Regions from separate parts of the Homo sapiens genome. Here region 1 is linked to region 2. The links are contacts of gene promoters, found by promoter capture Hi-C in human tissues and cell types (Jung and others, 2019). All regions are on one chromosome and are shown on one strand. Each heading gives the region's core, a stretch centred on a gene start or on the middle of the fragment in contact. The rest is flanking DNA. Distances are from core to core; before and after follow the strand shown. Region 1 has its middle 42 kb from the start of AARD. Region 2 holds the start of AARD (alanine and arginine rich domain containing protein).

Evidence for each region. Contacts are between HindIII fragments. The study calls those that stand out against the background at their distance.
Region 1: a contact is called between a fragment that was not itself captured here and the fragment with the promoter of AARD in region 2, in 1 of the 25 tissues and cell types used here (H1 embryonic stem cells).

Annotation. Positions count from the first base shown.
Region 1 is chr8:116,977,690-116,983,367 of GRCh38, reverse strand. It overlaps a transcript of SLC30A8 not described here. Among named protein-coding and RNA genes, the nearest start is that of AARD, 42 kb to the right of the region's middle. The HindIII fragment of the contact is 4,108 bases long and covers 1,269-5,376 here.
Region 2 is chr8:116,934,743-116,940,067 of GRCh38, reverse strand. AARD (alanine and arginine rich domain containing protein) reads right to left here and starts at 1,861. Exons shown (of 2, transcript NM_001025357.3): 1 at 1,501-1,861. The coding sequence starts at 1,824. RefSeq lists a silencer at 1,492-1,591. The HindIII fragment of the contact is 10,639 bases long and covers 1-5,325 here.

The DNA of each region.
Region 1 (5,678 bases), core at 2,073-4,572, 42 kb before region 2:
ATTTCAAAAAGTAGAAATTCCAGAGCTCACAGCCTCTGATCATTTTGCCCTAAAAGACTCACCAGGAATTACAATTAAAAATAAAAGGTGAAATATGCAAAATTATATCTCAGAAAGGGACTATATCTGTAGACATAAATTTTTTAAATGAGAGAATGCATCTTAATTTTTATTACTCAAGATTAATTTGACAATCTCAATACATGGTTTTATAAAAAAGTACACACTACTAAAATAGAAGTTATAAACACTAACTTACCAATAATTTCAGAACAATGTAACAATGACTTCCCAAAAAATGCACTTGGTCAAAATGGTTTGAAAGGTAGATTCTTTCAATTTATCAAAGCAAATATAAAAATAATGATATACGACAGAGTATAGAGATTATATTTAAAAAGTGAAAAAGTTCTCATTCATTTTACTAATGTGTGGCCCTGATAGTGACAAATTCAGCACATGCACACACACAAATACACAAGCACACAAAGGTACTCTCTTACACTTTTGATGGAAGTATAAATTGATGCAGGTTCTCCAGGGAGCATGAATTAATTTTTTTAAAAAAATATATGTGCCCCTTTACCTAGGAGTTCCACTAAAGGAATTTCCCCTGAGGTGATAATGTTTCACGTGTGAGAGATTATTTGTGCAGCAGATTCTGGAACAATGTAATCTGGTTCAATGTCATTTTGTTCTGGACTGATAGGGAAAAAAATTGATTCTGACTGGAATAAATGGGATTGATTGATCAGTGGACAGGTTCCAGCCACCCACCATGCTGAACTGGACTAATTAAGTAAATAACTATCTTATTTGCTTTTATTAATCTTTCTTGTGTGTGTAGCTCACATTTATTGTAATGTAAAATATTAGAAGTATTTTATCTCTCTTTAGAAGTCTGGTGATGTTTTGTGACTACAAATATGCTGTAGGAATATCACTGTTGTTTCCATCAATCAGCCTATGGTAAAACTGGTTTCCCTACATATTGTTTTGCTTAAAGTTGCAGTCTCCAAGAATCTATGGACAATAATGTTAAGTGAAAACTTACTGTGTATGAATATTCATAGTGGCATTGTTAGCAACAAGATATGAAAAAAAAAAACTGGAAACAACCTAAATGTTTACAGTGAAGATTTTTTTCAGTCACCTCAAATTCTTTGACATTAAGCATATGAAAGAATGGCCAACATCACTAACCATTAGAGAAATACAAATCAAAACCACAATGAGATACCATCTATGACATCAGTCAGAATGGCTATTACTAAAAATGAAAAAATAACAGATTCTGGCAAGGTTGCAGAGAAAAGGGAATGTTTATACACTGCTGGTGGGAATATAAATTAGTTTAGCCATTGTGGAAAGCAGTGTAACAATTTCTCAAAGAACTCAAAGCAGAATTACCATTCAACCCAGCAATCCTATTACTGAGTATATACACAAAGGAATGTAAATGATTCTATCATAAAGACACATGCACACATATGTTCATCACAGCACTATTCACAATAGCAAAGACACAGAATCAACCTAAATGCCCATCAATCATAGACTGGATTTAAAATATGTAGTACATACACACCATGGAATACTACACAGCCATAAAAAAGAACAAGATCATGTCTTTTGCAGCAACATGGATGGAGTGGGAGGCCATTATCCTAAGTGAGCTAATATAGAAACAGAAAGTCAAATACCACATGTTCTCACCCACAAGTGGGAGCTGAACATTTAGTACATATGCATACAAAGTAGGGAACAACAGATACTAGGACCTGCTTGAGGGTAGTGAGAGGGAGGAATGGGAGGATCGAAAAACTACCTAACAGGTGCTATGCTTATTACCTGGGTGGTGAAATAATCTGTATGCTAAACTCCTGTGACATGCAATTTACCTGTATAACAAACCTACACACGTACTCTTGAATCTAAAATATAACTTTAAAAAAAATAAGTAGGACTGACTTCTCCTCCTCTTGTATCAGGGCCTACTTGTGACTTCACATGAGTGTGTGAACCAAGAGAGGACTGTGGAAGGGATGCTTTGTGAGTTCTGAGCCTTGGTCAAGAAAAGTCATGTAGCTTCCACCTGGTTCTCTAGAGCACCAAGCTGTCAAGCAAAAAGTGCAGCTACCACAAAGTCACCATACTAGAGTGAGAGTCCCAGCTTAGCACAGCCTTCCAGCCAACACATCACCGCAAATTGCTACACATGGAAGTGAAATTATTGTGGCAGTACATCCTTCAGTCCAACCATTTAACACCTCCAGTACCAGCCGATGGCCAAGACATCACTAAGCAGAAGAGCCATCCCATGGGCCCTGCCTGAATTTGTGACCCTCGGTGTTGGTGAGCATTTATAAAATGGTTGTTGTTTTATGCCACTAAGTTTAGGGTGACTTGTTATGCAGCAATAGTAATTAGAACACCCATTCATTAAATAAATTTGTTAACCAAATCATAGTGAAATCCTATGGCACCATCAGAAATGATAGTGTCTTTATAATAATTAATATGTGAAAATCACATTAGCAGAAATATTCATATGTGCATTGGTTGAGAGGTAACAGACATGTCTGGAAGGATAATCACCTAAAGGTGATGGTAGTTGCCTTTCGATGGGGGTGTGTTTTGAGAGTGTTCCTTCATTCTTTACCTTGTTCTGCTGCAGCATAGAGTTTTCTATTCCCCTTTCCAGTTGTAGACTCATCTTCCAGTTGCTGTGTGTGTTGGCTGATAAATAACTCACAGTTGTCCTTTTTTCTGGAGAATTGCTCTTGGCCAAATGAAAGTCTTTTTGCCAAGATGACACTTTATATCCCCAGACCTCAGCCAATGACTGACTGACACAAGGAAATCAGAGCCAGCCTCCTCACTTCAAGGGAGGACCAACTGTGTGGTGTGATTTCTGCTCCAGAACTTCCTGTGGGATGAGATTAAAGCTGGTCTCCAGCTGAGACTACATACTGCTTAAATTCTCCCCCTGCCCTTTCCTGCTACCTCAGTCCCCTCCTCCCAAGAAGACTCTCCCTACAGATCACCTGGACAAGACTCCCCATTTCAGGCCCAGCCTCTGTAGAATCCATTCTAAGACAAATATGTATTATTTTTACAAATAAATCACAATAACTAAACAGCCCAAAACTACCAAAAAAAGTGATGCATCAATCACATGGCAGGGGTTAAGATAAAATTAAGGCAATATGTACTTATTTGAAATTTCAGCAGCCCAGATTATAAAATCTCTACTAAGGTTATATAAAGTTTCTCAAGCCTCAGAAGGAGCAGGGATCAAGGAATCACATCCATAGTCGTTCCCTTTGTTTTAATAACATCATTTAGGGTATTGGTCATTGTGATTTTCAGAAAAGTCAAACCTGATGTTATGCTGTCTTCACTTTCTTTTCTTCCTTCCTCTAAGCTTCTGTTTCTTTGGAAATGATCCTATCCTTACCTCATAAAAGTTTTTAATTTTCCTTCTCATTTTATTTCTGCTGCAAGAGAATGCTATTTGTTGGCATGGTCCCAGCAATCAAGCTCCTGGGTAAAAAGGTCCAGGGCAGAAGATAACAGACTGCTTTCATGGGTAGCGACATCTTGCAAATGCCTTATTTCAGGGGCCCTCTTAGGGGAAGCTCACCTCTCCCGGGACAAGTGAGTACATGAAGAATCCACTTGCGTTGGCCTCACACTTCTGCTCTGTGCCTCCATGGCCTTTGGCATAGGTTCTGCCATTTTTCTTCAGACAGTCCCCTGAGGACACTGTAAGGAAACTTGGTCCAGAAATTTTCAAGACTTGGACAAATGCCGTTCAGAAATGGGTCTGAGACCACCAGTACCCAAAGATTCGTTAAAGTCTCATCAGAGGACCACTAATCTCCGGTCCTATCTAACCTTGGCAGAATGGAAGCCAACGACAGGGAAAGAAAGATGTCCTGCTCCATTTCTGGATTCCCCAAGACATTTAGTCTCTATCCCTTCTCTGCTTTATGCATTTATGTTTTCTTCGAGGAGGATAACGTTGGAGTAAATTGTAACCCAGTCACACCTAGAATGAGTGCTTAAAAGAGACACAATTATCTTTATGATTTGTTTTCTTTTTTTTTTTTTTTTTTTTTTTTTTGAGACAGGGTCTCACGCTATTGCCCAGGCTGGAGTGCAATGGCAAAATCACTGCTTACTTTAACCTCCGCTTCCCAGGTTCGAGCCATTCTCATGCCTCAGCCTCCCGAGTAGCTGGGATACTACAAGCGTGTGTCACCACACCCAGCTAATTTTTGTATTTTTAGTAGAGACGGGGTTTCATCATGTTGCCCAGGCTGGTCTCAAACACCTGACCTCAAGTGATCCACCCTCCTCGGCCTTCCAAAGTGCTGGGATTACAGGCATGAGCTACTGTGCCCGGCCTCCTTATGATTTAAAAAAAAAAGAAAAAAAGAAAGAAAAAAAAAAGATACAGCCCTTCACAGGTAGGATGACAGTGACTCACAGGTGTTTCTAAAACAGAAATGCACATATAGGTGAGCATATGCATATATATATGAAGCATTCTTAAGGCTGCTGGAGACTGATGCATTTTTAAGGCCACTGGACTGGTCTCAGAAAATTTCCAGAAAATAATTATCTATGCAGAATATCTCCAAGGGGCAGCATCAGATTATGTCTGAACACTTAAGACATATTTGTAGTAAATACACAGCATGTGGCTTTCTTTCATAACATTTTTGTGAGATATTTTATTTAAGCTCTTGCACATACTGTAATAAGAGAGAAAAGAGACAAAGGGAAAAAAAGAGCAAGCAATAATCACCACCTGTCAGACTTAACGTGCATTTTTATCCTCAGTTTGCAATATTACTAATCACCTCATTTAGATTAGAAGCGTGCCAAGAAAAGACTATATAAAGCATCAAGCATCATGTATGCTCAAAATAACTGTTAGAGCATCATAGCCAGTGGTTTTATGTGTTTCTTCATTTCTATTCAATGATGCAAATGGTATCCAAAATTCTTACCCCATCCTTCCCAAAGTCTTTTAACAGTAACATAGATTTTACATACCTATTCCTCATTCAGTCAGTCAACAAGCATATTCATTATTAATAATAATATCAAACACTGACTAAAAAAAATACAATATGCAAGGTACCAGGCTAAGACTTTATGTATGTAACCAGTATGTTGATAGACCAGGACTTTTATGTTGAGTACTAGTTAGAGACTAGGCTATACTGGTTTGAAAAAGTGACCAAAATACAGGAAGGTTACAGGAAGGTTAAATGGGAAGGGTGCTTTTCTTTTTCAGGACAACCTAGAGGGGAACTGACCAAAGTTGGCAAGATAGCTCTGCCATCTTTAACATGCTCTTCGGGTACTAGCCATTTCCCAGCAAGCAGAAGGGAAGAAAAGGAACGTTCATGGGAAACAGCTTATCTTTAAGAAATTCATGTAAAAATATAACCATCAGAGCTGAGAAAACTAAGCTGAGCTTATTCATTGCCAGGCAAAACAGGCTTTCCCTTCCCCCACATCCAATAGAAAGTGGTAGAGCAGGCTGGGAGTGGTGGCTCACACCTGTAATCCCAACACTTTGGGAGGCCGAGGCAGGTGGATCATGAGATCAAGAGATTGAGACCATCTTGGCCAACATGGTGAAATCCCATCTCTACTTA
Region 2 (5,325 bases), core at 612-3,111:
GATCTCGTGAGATTTTATTGCCACCCCCAACATATTGCTTGTCTAAAGCTCCTAACAAGCAACTTATTAAAATGTTATGATTGAAAGCTGTCTCTGAGCTTATTCAGTGTAATCTCCTCATCTGATTTAAATATGAGTCCCCTGAGGCTCAGGAAGGAGTACCGGCAGATCCCAAGACTACAATGCAGAGATGGCTGCGCCAGGTTTCAGCCTTCCAGTTTAGCATCCTGGCCCATAGCACAGGCCTCCAGTGGCCGAATGAGGTGGCTCCGGCTACCCTGCAGCTCAGACTCACTGCTTAGACTCAGGGTGAAAACCAGGTGTTTCTTTGACATTGTTGGATAAGATAGTAAATCTGGTAGTAAATCTAATGTAACCCATGTTAACAATCTGAATCTGACACGGAATTTAGGATATTGTCCTTTTTTTGTTTTTGAGACGTTGTTTCACTCATGTCTCCCAGGCTGGAGTGCAATGGCGCAATCTCAGCCCACTGCAGCCTCTGCCTCCCAGGTTCAAGCGATTCTCCTGCATCAGCCTCTGGAGTAGTTGGGATTACAGGTGCCAGCCACCATACCTGGCTAATTTTTGTATTTTTAGTAGAGACAGGACTTCACCATTTTGGCCAGGCTGGTCTCGAACTCCTGGCCTCAGGTGATCCACTTGCCTCGGCCTCCCAAAGAGCTAGGATTACAGGCATGAGCCACAGCTCCGGCCTAATACTGTTCTTCTTAAACTTAGAAATGCGATAACATTCTTAAATAAGACAATTTACTAATGGTTGGCTCAGTTCTAAAGTAGTGGTTAATTGTATTAGTAATCAGTGCAAAAGAGAAGAATTTTCCAAGTCAAGTCTCCACTGCACACTTTCCTAGGCAGCACCATTTTAAAGTCTGATTGCTCCTATTCATTGTGTCCTTTTCAAGTTGTGACTAATTTCCAGTTTTTTGAATTAAAAAAAATCAGTCAGCTAAAATATTTACCTATACACCCTCCTGTTTAATATTCGGATGTAACCTGTGTAATGTTCGAAATGGTGCAATTTTACAAAATACCTTATCACTTCCAGTTTTCTAAATTATTACCCACGGGAAAGATAAGAATAAAACTTGCGGGGCATAAAGAAAGAGTTACTGATGGACACACTCCATCAATCGCAAGAGAGAGTTTATTTCATGGAAATTTCCTCCTCCGCGAGCCATACATACACATAGTCACAGTTCCCTACAGGGCAGAAAACTATAGAAACGGGTTGGGGAGGAGACATCTTGGGTATGTCACTGGTAGACCAGGCACCCCCGCCCCCACCCCCCACCATGGGTCCTGCAGGGCCCTTTTCCTTCCCAACGATGCTGGGGAGGCGGGGGCGTCAACGCCGTGTCCAGACCTGAGGGGCCCCCCAAGGCGTCGGGTGGGCTACGCGGCCAGCGGCTCTGCAGCTGGAGGAGAGGACCCGGGAGAGGGAGCCCTGGGAGCCGTCCGCCTAGCCCGCTCTCTCACCAGCTCCGCCCGCAGCCTGGCCAGGGTGGCCTCAACGCCCGTCCAGCTCTGCTCCTCCCGCGCCGCCGCCGCCGCCGCCGCCTCCTGCACGCGCCTCGAGATCGCGCGCTGCACCGCCCACTGGAAGGCGCGCGTCAGCCGTCGTCTGAGGTCCTCCAGCAGCGGGCTGGCGGCGAGGGCCTCCTCCTGGATGTCCGTGCTCCTGCCGTCCCCGAAGAAGTCGCACGCGGGACGAGGTGGGAACCAAAGCTCCGCTCTACCTGGGAGTCCCTGGAGCCCCTGGGAAATTCTCTCTCTGCAGCGGCGGAAGTCCCCGGGGCCCATCGCGGAGACGCCTGGTCACTGCTCTACCGCTGCTGCTGAAAGATGAGTTTCTAAGTTTGATGTTTAGGGCGGGGTCAGGGCGGGGGCGGAGGTAATTCAAGGACCCTTGCCAAGTGGGATGCTGCAACTGCCCCGCCATTCAGAGACGCTCCTTTGCTCCCAGTCCCATCTTAGTCCTCCATTAGCGACAGAGGAAGGAGGCGGTTCCCATAACTCCAGGAGAAGTTTAAGCTGAGTCGCTTTTTTCTGCTGCTTGCATTGAAAGGAAGTCTTTCTAAGGAGAAGGCTTGGTAACTGAGCAGTCAGCCTATGTAAGTGGAAGTTGAGGTACAGGTGGAAGGTTTATGACCAAAGGTTAGAATATTTCAACCCAAAGCCTTCCTGGTTGCCTTGATCGTCTAATACGTCATTCCTTAAAAACAATTTTTTTTCTTCCTACTCTGCCAGGCACTTTGCCAAGTTTGGGGAATGCAAAGGCTTAATTAGACCCCTCACCTTTCCCCAGGTATTGCCCGCAGTCAAGGGGGAGAGCCTTGGCCCTGCTTGCTAGTTAGAATGTACCTTCTACAGGTTCAGTAAGGCATACCTGGAAGTCTGAGTCTCCATGCTCCTTTCTATTTTGACTCCTGTCTGCCATGTCCACGTTTATGAAGGGGTTAAAATGAAAAATCAAAATTCCCCTTAGCCCAAAGTGTGTGTGTTTAATTCCCAACTAATAAGGTTTGGCTCTGTGTCATCACCAAATTCCAGTGGAATTGTAATCCCCAGTGTTGGAGATGAAGCCTGGTGGGAGGTGATTGGATCATGGAGGTAGAGTTCTCATGAATGGGTTTAGCCCCATTCCCGCCTGGTACTTTATAGTGAATGAGTTCTTACCAGATCTGGTTGTTTAAAGTGTATGGCACCTCCTCTCTCTCTCTCACTCCTGCTCTGCCATGTAAGACACTTGCTCTCGCTTTGCCTTCCACTATGAGTAAAAGCTCCCTGAGGCCTCCCCAGAAGCAGATGCTGCCATGCTTTCTGTATAGCATACAGAACCATGAGCCAATTAAACCTCTTTTCTTTCCAAATTACCCAGTCTCCGGTATTTCTTTATAGCAGTGAGAGGACAGACTAATACACCAACTCCAGGTAATCATGTGCCAATATTACCTGTATATCCTTTATCAAAGAACATATTCTGCCTCTTTTTGATCTAATAGGGAATTTCTAAAAAGGAGTGAACAATCAAAACTTTTGTATGATCAAAGAATGCAATTACAAAAAAAAACAAAACATAGTTTAGACACAACTCTCATCTTATTCATCATTCATTCATTCATTCATTCAAAAGTTACAAGTCACTTGCAATGTTCCAGGGTCCATGGTAGGCATTGAAGGCAATAACAACTGATTTTTATTCATGCTTAGTATGTGCCAGGCAATTTTTATGTATTAATCTTCACAGCAACCTTGTGAGGTAAGTACTATTAGTTTCTGCATTTTACAATTGAGGAAACTAAGGCAAGAGATTAAGACGTACACCAAAGATCTCAAAGCTGGTAAGGGATCCACTGGAAATTTGCACCTAGGAAGTCTGGCTTGTGCTCCAAACCACTGGGATACACCCTGGATACGCTTTATCTCCCAAAGAGGAAGAGAGTTGCTCAGTTTATATGTTGCATGAGTGAGTGAGTAAGAGTGAATAAGTGTTTAAATTCACTATGTTCATAAAATTCGGCTCTATTGAAATGGCTTAAGGCTCAACTGGATAAGGAACAATACAGGTTACTCAGCCTGTGCAGATAATCTACTAAATTGAACAGCTTGCAATAGTTTACAACCCAAGCACAGTAAAATTCCTACCATTGTATATTGCTTCATAAAGATTCCCTAGAAACATCTGAAGATGTGTTGTCTTGGTAGAAATTATAAAAATCCATGTGGTCTGCCATGCAGCAATGGAGTGTGAATTTAGGGTTTTTTGTTTGTTGGTTGGTGATAGGTTGATGGGGCTTGAAAACCACCACTAGTCAATGTACAATATAAACGTTTAAAATGAATTTTTTGCTATGATTTTTCACTTCCATTTCCAGATCATTTACTTCAACAAGAATTTCAGTTAAGTTCAATTTAACTCAACAGTGAATGGCGCATGTTCAGTGTTAAGAATTGTGCCATATGAGGGAGATACAAAGATGAATAAGGCATAGTTTTTGTCCCCCAGAAGCTTAAAACCTGAGGAAGCAAATTTATTGATTCATTCATTTAACAATATTTATTTAATGTCTTATTATGTACCAAGCATTACACAAGGTGCTCAAGCTACAATGGCAAACCAAGGAGACAAAATGTTTTTTTAAAATAAACTGGTTTACCACAAATTAATAATTTTCCTCTATAGGTTAATTTTTCAGTTGTGGTACACCTTGAATTTTACAATTTTTTTTCTTTCTCTTACACAGGCAAAGCAAATTGAAGAATTGGAGCACTGAATATAACATCCACAGACATTTGAATTAGAAAATGTATTAATTATTTATTGCTGCATAACAAATTACTCCAAAATTCAATGGTTTAAAAAAATAAACATTTATTTTCTCTGACAGCTTCTGTGGGAAAGAATTTGGGAACAGCTTAGGTTATGGTCCTTAGCTTTTATGCTGTTGTAACCAAATGTCAGGCAAGGTCTCCATCCTCTGAAGCTGGATGTGATTGGCGCTGGAGGATCTGCTGGCAAGGTGAATCACTTAGATGAATCACTCAAATGCCAGGCAATTGGAGCCAGCACTTGGTGGGAGGCCTCAGTTCCTCTCCATGTGGACTCTTTCCTACTATTGTGTAAGCGTCTTCATGATATAGTGGGTAGACTTCCCTCAAAACAAGAAGAGAGAAATACAGAGAGCCAGAGAGAAGCTCTTTACATGTGCTCTGAACTACATTTTTATGACCTGGCTTTGGAAGTCAGTTATTACCATTCTGCTGATCAGTATCAAGTCTCTAAGTTGGAGCTATATTCAAGGGGAGGAACCTCAGCTCCACCTTTTGAAGTAGGGAGTATCAAAAATTTCCAAATATATTTTTAAACTACCATGGGAGAAACATATGTACATTACACGTAAGTAAACAATGATACAAATGACTTCTGACTTCCTGCAGAAAAAAAAAGGAGTCCAGAAAACATTGAGATATTTTTAAACGCAGAGAGAACTAAATTAACACAGAATTCTAAGTTCAGCAAAAATATCCTCCCAAAAACCAATCTCAAAAAGCATGTTTTTAAAAAAGGAAAATTAGGAAAATTTGTCACAAGCAGGCTTACACTATAAGAAGTACTAAAGGAAATTCCTCAGCTGAAGTAAAATAATAGTACAGGGAAACACAGATCTTCAGGAAGAAATGAGTAACATAAGAAATGGTAAGTATCTAGGTATACGTAAGTGACTTTGATTCCTCTTAATTAATAAACATATGGTTTTATATATATGTTTTTAAAAAACAAATATATATATTGTTATATAC